Regions from separate parts of the Homo sapiens genome. Here region 2 is linked to region 1. The links are contacts of gene promoters, found by promoter capture Hi-C in blood cells and fetal thymus (Javierre and others, 2016). All regions are on one chromosome and are shown on one strand. Each heading gives the region's core, a stretch centred on a gene start or on the middle of the fragment in contact. The rest is flanking DNA. Distances are from core to core; before and after follow the strand shown.

The links. Contacts are between HindIII fragments. The CHiCAGO score rates a contact against its expected background, and 5 or more counts as called.
Region 2: a contact is called between the fragment with the promoter of MPP4 here and the fragment with the promoter of NDUFB3 in region 1, in 5 of 17 cell types (total CD4 T cells, non-activated CD4 T cells, fetal thymus and 2 more). The highest score is 11.9, in total CD4 T cells.

The regions. Positions count from the first base shown.
Region 1 is chr2:201,070,490-201,074,705 of GRCh38, reverse strand. NDUFB3 (NADH:ubiquinone oxidoreductase subunit B3) reads right to left here and starts at 2,705. Exons shown (of 3, transcript NM_002491.3): 1 at 2,647-2,705. It overlaps HYCC2 (hyccin PI4KA lipid kinase complex subunit 2), which reads left to right and starts at 3,035. Exons shown (of 13, transcript NM_001321623.1): 1 at 3,035-3,096. RefSeq lists enhancers at 2,183-2,806, 2,943-3,032, 3,053-3,322, 2,807-3,432, 3,423-3,562. The HindIII fragment of the contact is 13,158 bases long and covers 1-4,216 here.
Region 2 is chr2:201,695,884-201,699,947 of GRCh38, reverse strand. It overlaps MPP4 (MAGUK p55 scaffold protein 4), which reads left to right and starts at 1,304. Exons shown (of 22, transcript NM_033066.3): 1 at 1,304-1,361. RefSeq lists enhancers at 1-172, 173-674. The HindIII fragment of the contact is 2,266 bases long and covers 1-1,319 here.

The DNA.
Region 1 (4,216 bases), core at 1,456-3,955:
GGCAGGTGGATCACTTGAGGCCAGGAGTTGAGACCAGCCTGGCCAACATGGGGAAACCCTGTCTCTACTAAAAATACAAAAATTAGCCAGGTGTGGTAGCACACACCTGTAGTCCCAGCTACTCAGGAGGCTGAGGAATGAGAATCACTTGAACCCAGGAGGTGGAGGTTGCAGTGAGCCGAGATTGCGCCACTGCACTCCAGCCTGGGTGACAGAGTGAGATTCTATCTCAAAAAAAAAAAAAAAAAAAAGCTGAACATATGAATACCTTATGGCCATCAATTCCACTCCTAGTACATATATTCTAGATAGACACTGTCCAATATGGTAGCCACTAGCACTTGAAATGTGGCTGGTGCAGTTGGGAACTGGGAATTTTAATTTAATTTTAATTAACTTAATCTCAAAACAGATGATCAAATCGTTATTAGAAAATATTAATGTGTCTTTGGAGGCCAGGAGCGGTGGCTCACGCCTGTAATCCCAGCACTTTGGGAGGCTGAGGCAGGTGGAACACCTGAGGTCAGGAGTTCAAGAAAAGCCTAACCAACATGGCAAAATCCCGTCTCTACTAAAAATAAAAAAATTAGCTGGGCATGGTAGCACATGCCTGTAGTTCCAGCTATTAGGGAGGGTGAGACAGAAGAATCACTTGAACCTGGGAGGTGAAGATTGCACTAAGCCGAGATCGCGCCACTGCACTCCAGCCTGGGCGACAGAGCGAGACTCTGTCTCAAAAAATATACAAATAAAATAAATAAATAAAAGTGTCTTTGGAACAATTTGGATATATGAATCTACTTTATCAACTGTAAATCTTATAAACATAATCACAGATCAAAGGTTTATATTTATGGAATATAAAAAATATATTTAAAATATTTTCTTAGAGACATCAAGCCTCTAGTCTTTAAAAAAAAACAAATTTTTTTTTTGAGATGGAGTATCACTCTGTCGCCAGGCTGGAGTGCAGTGGGTGGTGCAATGTCGGCTCACTGCAACCTCCGCCTCCCAGGTTCTAGTGATTCTCCTGCCTCAGCCTACCGAGTAGCTGGGATTACAGGCGTGCACCACCACACCCGGCTAATTTTTTGTACTTTTAGTAGAGACTGGGTTTCACCATGTTGGTCAGAATGGTCTCGATCTCTGGACCTCATTATCCGCCTGCCTCGGCCACCCAAAGTGTTGGGATTACAGGCGTGAGCCACCGTGCCCAGCCTAAGAAATATGTTTTTAAAAGAACCTTTATAGCCACATTGTTTATTCTCTCTCCCAACTGTAAACAACCCAAATGTCCAATAACAATAGAAGGGATTATGGTATAGTCACACTGTAGAATATTATACAACAAAAAACTACATGCAAAAGTGTGATTGAATCTCCACAAATATGGATAATGAGCAAGGGGTGAGTCAGAAAAAAATACACATGCACTCTGAACCCATTTATATAGATTGAAATGCCTAACAATTCATTTTTTAGGAATTCATCATAGACGGAAAAATTAAAGTAAAACAAGTGAGTGCTTAGCACAAGTCAGGATAATGGTTACCTCTTGGTGGAGGAGATGGAATCACAGAAACATACTGGGAGATTCTAAGGCAGTGTTTTTCAACCAATTTTTAACTATTGTCCCTGTAAGGAACCTTTCTAGACATTTTATTCCTAATCACACCCCCCGCCATGAAAATTTAACACTACATATATACTGTATAACTGTTTATATACTGTGGCCCTTTGGAGGGACACAAATCATTGTAGTAACTAAGATTCCGACCCCGGCCCCACCAATTTTCAACCCCTTGAAATGTAAAATCACCCCTGTTAAGACTGCATGTTCTAAGTTATTGGCAATGCTTTATTTTCTAATCTAAGAGGTGGATACAGGAGTGTCTGCTTCTGTTAGTTATAATTTTTTAAAATGTATGTTTTATACACCCTTCTGTATATATACTTGACAATAAAAAATAAAAATAGAAAAATTGACTTAAATTGTGCTGAGGACTGAAAAATGGTGGTTATTTCCGTTTCAGAGCAGCTCAAATAATAACAGTAAGGAAATTAGTTAAATAAAGAAAAAACATGCAACCAAAAATTTTAAAAGCTATCTATGTCTGAAGTGAATCTAAAAGTCTCATGAAGATCAACCTCCACTAAAGGAAGCTGGCTCTAAGAAAATGTGCTGGTATCCTTTCCCTAAGAAAGAAATAAGAAGATAATGCTACTTCCACTACATGCAATTTTAGTTTACCGAAGACTATCAAGTATATATCTTAACTTCCTCGTATTAAAAACTGTGATTATATGAATATTAGAACATAAAAAACAAATGAACTGTTATTACTTTTAGTGATGCTGTTCTTCTGCCTTTGCGATCCAAAGGCAAACAAAGACAATTTTGCGTGTGGCAGAAGCGGGAACAAGCACCTGGATTTAACAACTACAGTAATGATCACTGAATCCTCCAACCACCTCTTCCTACCCCAACTCTAAACTAGGACTTCATTAGTTCTCGCCTGCTAGTTCTTTGATCTCCCTCCCAGCCTCCCATCCTTCTCCATTTAGTCTCTCCTTTTCTGCACTCCCCAGAATAGAGTCTAGCTCTTAATCCTAATCAACGGGCCTCCCACCAACTCCCTAATTTACCTGACAGCAATCTGACCTCTCAGGACACTCAACTCTGCAACCGGAGCCAACCGGAAACGGAGGTTGTCACCTCGAGTTTCTCACGGCAGGAAAGCGGAGAAGCCGCTTAACGTTCCGATACTGGGTTAGAGATTCCTGAATCAGGTAGAGACTACATGAGGGACGCTGGAAGTCGATTATTTTCCCAGTATATGTGCATCCTCAATCTGACTGAGGTAACAGATACTGTAGAAAAGAGAAGGGCGGGGAAGATAATATGTTGTCCTTGCTTGGGGACGGAATCCTTAGACACCGCACACAGGGCGGGGCTGCCGGCATACTGCAGCCAATAAGGGAGGCTGTTGTTGAGAGCGTGTTCTCACCCAATGAGAGGGTTGGTTGTTGCGCTGCAGTTGGCAGGCTGCTGCGGGAGGCGGCGGCGGTAGGAAGCCGGAGACAGCAGGGTGACAGGTAGGCGGCGGTGCTGTCTTTGGGGGAGGCAAAGTGCTAGATGAAGAGGGGTTTTCTTCTCCTTCGGCCGCGGAAACTACAGACGGGAGCTGGCGAGGGTGGTCTGGAAAGGCGGTAGCCGGTGTGTTGGTGGTCCCGGAACCTCTCGTAAACCAGGTAGCATCTTGGGAGGGTCGTGAGGAGGAGAAGGCGGCAGCCGAGGCGGGTGGAAGCCGAGCCTTGTGGGGCGACGTGGGGGCCCACCTAGGGCGTGGGGGCTGCGGTGGCGCCAGCAGAGAGGGAGGAGAGGCGGGAGCAAGGCGGTGTCGTGAGGGCTGAAGGGATTCTTTGCACAAAGCCCCAGGCGAGAAAAGGACACGGCATTGAAGACAGTTAAGAGAAATCCCAGTGATTGCTTCTTAGGGCCATTTCCTGGGGGTGGTGAGGGGGAGCGGAGAAGAAAAATATTTACTGGCGGTCAGATTCTGAACACTCATTATTGCTGTACATTATGTAATCTTTGGCTGTTATTTACCCAAACAACTAGGTTGTCCCTCCTGGGAGAGGAGGTCTTGCAACCTATTAATGTGTTAGAACACTTTTTTCATTGGCTTGAGTGCCATTTACATTGGCAGGTTCTCTAGGCGAAGGGTGGTAGCATGGAGGATAGAGTAGTCACGAAGAGCTTATCCCAATTATGGACTTGACAGATACTAGTTTGCGATGAATGTGGCCAGGTTCATGTTTTGTAGTTCGTGAATTTATTTGAGGGTCAAGGCTGACAACATTTTTTAAAGATCTTCAGAAAAGTGGGGAATCCTTTAAAAATGTACAGTAGGAGCTCAGTGTAAGTTGGAAAATGACTAGAAAATTAGTTGGTAGATCCCTTCCTCCCCCCAGGATATTGTGGAAGTTAGGGACTGTGCAAATAAGGTGGTGGTCTGAATATGGGGAAAAAAATAAACTTTTTTTTTTTTTGAGACGGAGTTTCGCTGTTGTTGCCCAGGCTGGAGTGCAATGGCGCGATCTCGGCTCACAGCAACCTTCGCCTCCCGGGTTCAAGCCATTCTCCTGCCCCAGCCTCCGGAGTAGCTGGGATTACAGGCATGCGCCACCACGCCCGACTAATTTTGTATTTTTA
Region 2 (4,064 bases), core at 55-2,554, 630 kb before region 1:
ATATGTGGAAATGGACAAACAAAAACTTTGAGACAAATTGACCCATTGAGAAGATTTCCAATGATGATAGGCTGTCTCTGTTCTAAGAAAAGCCATGTTACAATTCGTCCTTTTACTGGAGTCTTGAATGAAACTGTTCAGTTACTTTGGATTCTTCCTACTATATGCTTTTCAGATAGCATATTAAAGTTATAAATTTTGAAGTGTATTGGAAGAAAAACCCTAAATCTCCAGGCCAATGTTTGTAAATAGAAGTCCTTGGCACTCCTGCAGCAGTTTACAATGGTCATTCACATGCGTAATGAATGCTTACAGCAGCCCAAGGATGCAGGTGTTATCCCCATTTCCCCCCATTTTTCAGACAAGCAGTGACCAAGATTTGCTCACTGCCAGAGCTGGGACTCCAGCCTAGAACTTCCCTACTCCCTACTTCCCTAGAAGTCCAGTGCTTTTTGCTACTACAGCTGCCAGAGATGTCATTTCATAGCTGGTTATGTATTGAAAGTTCTTAAAAGTGAGTTAAAAATGAAAATCTTATTGAAATCAAGTGCTTTTCACAAAATATGCTGTACTCAAAACACAAATGTATCACATTCCCAACTTGTGTTTTCATCTATGATGGAGAGATAAGGAAAGCCATGTGATTAATATGGGTAGAAGGGCTGAGGACCCTCTGATAATTGCCATTTGGTCTCTACCTTTTGCCTTGCTGTCAGCAATACCTTCCTCTCCTTTCTGCAATATCCCCTTCCAAATGCTCTCCCCACTGAGCACTCCCTGCAGTATTAAGTTTTCAGATAAAGAAGTAGCTCCTATCTGAGACAGAAAGCACTATTTGTTAGGTTCAGAACAGTGGCTTGGGAGGGGATTGACCAGAAGGTACTGTTTTTGATGGGTTTCTATTATTAGCTGAACAGTCTTCAGTTGTTTTCTCACCATAACATGAGAGATTTAATAAGGTTAGTAGGTTATTGGCTTATTTCCGGTCCTGCCACATTTTTTTCTTTCATTAAAAATGCTATCTTCTGTTGTGGAATGTCTGTCATCTTGAACTAATCAACAAAAATACTATGTTTTTCTGCCGTTAACTATGTGTTGGCAATTTGAGAGAAAATACTAGAATGTAGGTTTGAAAATGATACAAATTAGACTTCAAGGAATACTTAAGAAGATTTGTGGCAGGAAAGGCTTGTGAGTAATTTAGTTGTTAGGCTGGGTTAGGCATCTGTGGATTACATCAAAGAGGATGTGCAGAGATTTTATCGGGAGCAGTGAGGTGACTTTGGCAGCTAACAGGCCACTAGTATCCTACTAAAGCTTTTGTCTGGATAGGAGCAACATGCATGTTTACAGTCTTGCAGGTAAGAGACCTTGGCAAATAATCCTCAGTTACCAGAAGATGTATCCATAACTGCCTAGCTTGCCTGTCAGTTTTTAATAGCTAAAGATATAAATCTGGGTAATCTAACTCAAATGGCTTAGTTTCATTTTAACTCAAATGATATGGGGAATTTTATGATCTTGAAAGAGCAGGTTTTGCTTCGAGAAGCCATTTCTTCAGTATGGAATAATGAGTTGTCAGGAAGATTGAGTACAATGGGCATTTGCCCTGGTCCTAATCAACAGCATTTGGACCCAGAGGAAGCCAGCTATTTTTGTAAGGGCCATTTCTCATCATTAAGTTTCCAAGTGCTTTTTTAGGGTTTGTCTAGTAAAAAGCACTATTTTGAAAAACAAGCATAGTAAGGGTAGGGGGTTGTGGCATTTAATAGTACGTTTTAAAAAGCTAATGGAAATACTTTTAAAACAAGATTTAGGACAAATTCCTTAGGCATCAGTCACACTAATGCATCTTCTGAGTCAAGAACTGGCTATCCTTTCTGTGTACTCAGTCCGGAATTGCATGTGGTGGGTGCTTACTTATTTGCAGTCTCAATCAAGAATTCTCACTCTCAAGATAGCAGAAATAGATAAGCTTCAACTGACAAATTTGGTACAGAAGTCATGGAAAGGAAGGTAAGTCTTTTGCCAGGCATCATGCCAGGCATCAGCATCTTTCAGGACTAAGGAAACAAAAGAGGAAAACTCGATTTTACTACATGTTAACTCTACTGAATACCTCCTTGAATGTCAGATTCCTTATCTGTAAAACAAAGGTTTTGCATTTGATTATCTCTAAGATCCGCTTCTGCCCCCAGTTTTAAAGTTTGATAGGGAAAGAGGTTTAAGTCAGGATACCAGGCCAGGGAGGAAAGGAAGGGAGGGCACAGGCCTCTGGAGTTCAGCTGCCTCCCCCATTAGGATTGAAGTCCCAGCTGCTGGCTACTGCCTTGAGGGAGGTATCAGCCTTTTACTTCTGGATCTTGGCCTCTCCTTGTTCTACCCCTTCCCAACAACAACTGAACATACCAAGTGCTTGCTATGGCCCAAGCACTGTTGCAGGTGAAGCTGCAGCATGAACAAGATAAGCAACATCTCTGCTCCCCAGGCCCTCTGCAGACATGACACCTGCGGGAGACAGACACTGAGCAAGCCAGTGGATACAAGAACTGGGAAAATGAGAAGTGCTATGAGGGCAAGAAGTTGCAACTGTTTTCTTAGCTACCTGGAGGGAGGGAAAATCATTTTCTGGAAGTTTTTTTCTATGAGTTTTGTCTTAGCTTTGGCTGTCATAACAAAGTACCATAGACAGTGGCTTAAACAACAGAAATGTATTTTCTCATACAGTTCTGGAGGCTGGAAGTTGAAGATTGGGATGCCAGCATGGTTGGGTTCTTGCGAGGGTTCTCTTCCTGGCTTTCAGATGGCCGCGTTTTCACTGTGCCATCATCTGGCAGGGAGAGAGAGAACACATGAACTCTGATGGCTCTTACCCAGACGCTAATGACATCTTGAGGCCTCTACCTCATGACCTTAACCCAGTTACCTCCCAAAGGCCCCATCTTCAAATGCCATCAACAATGGGGATTAGGGCTTCAACATCTGAATTGGGGGTGGGGACACAACATTCAGTCCACCATAAATTTGTCATAGGAACCTGAAGATGAGGAGCCAAGCACAGTTTTTAGAATTTGCATAAGTTGTAGATTACTGTAATTATTGTTTTTGCCTCTATGGCTGAGAAACTTTGGGTCAAAACGAGCCTTTTAGAATGTATGAATTAGTTATCTAGGTAGCCCTGAAGTTGGCTCTAGATTTATTAGAAGCTATTTTAACCATTGCATTCACTCAAGAAACCACCGCCTATCTGTGAAGCACAGTCTATCTGTAAAGCTCCCTCACAATAAATTCATCTCAGAAATATGTAGTCTCTAGTGTGTGCCCCCAACTGCTGAATGGGTAGGCCTAGCTCAGCACAGTCATTCGGGCATTAAATATGGCAGAAATGTGGTCCACCTCATGACGTGCAAACAACAGTTGGCTTGTTTAATCTGCACTGCTTTGCCAAGGACGTGTGATTTGTGAGGTGCTGGAGGGGAACCAATTTTAAGAGTCAGCCTGAGTGTCAGCCTCATCTGTCTGCTCTGACTTTTGTCTGCTCTCTAGCAGGCACTCCATCTCCCTTTTCAATTTTCTACCCTGGAAGTGCTCCCCTCCAGGGAGGAAGATGAGTCAGATATGCAGCTGTGATGCTAAATGATTCAATAGAGTCAAAAACAACACAGAACACAGGAAAACGCATTGTTTAATCTGACTCAATTACAAGTGGGCAAGGTAGGTGATGGAGGGCAAGTCAAAAGCATAACGATGTCAAGCTTTGGTAGAACCTAGCAAACCGGAAGACTTCAGGGTGTTTGGAAAGGAATGTGTAGGGGAAAGTTGTCTAAAATGCTGTAACAGCTTTCTGTGTTGCTCTTCTCACTGCCTTAGAATTTAGAGTCAAAATAATAATGATCTTTTCTTCTTTTAGATAGCCTTCCTGGCTTCAACCCACAATCAGTCTAGATTCTAGACAGTGGTTCTCAACCCTATCAGAGTCAATACTCCAGTCTTTAACAACTAATTTGAAGTGTTCCTTTTATAACAAAAACCTTAATGTATTCTTTATTGTCCTACTATAACAA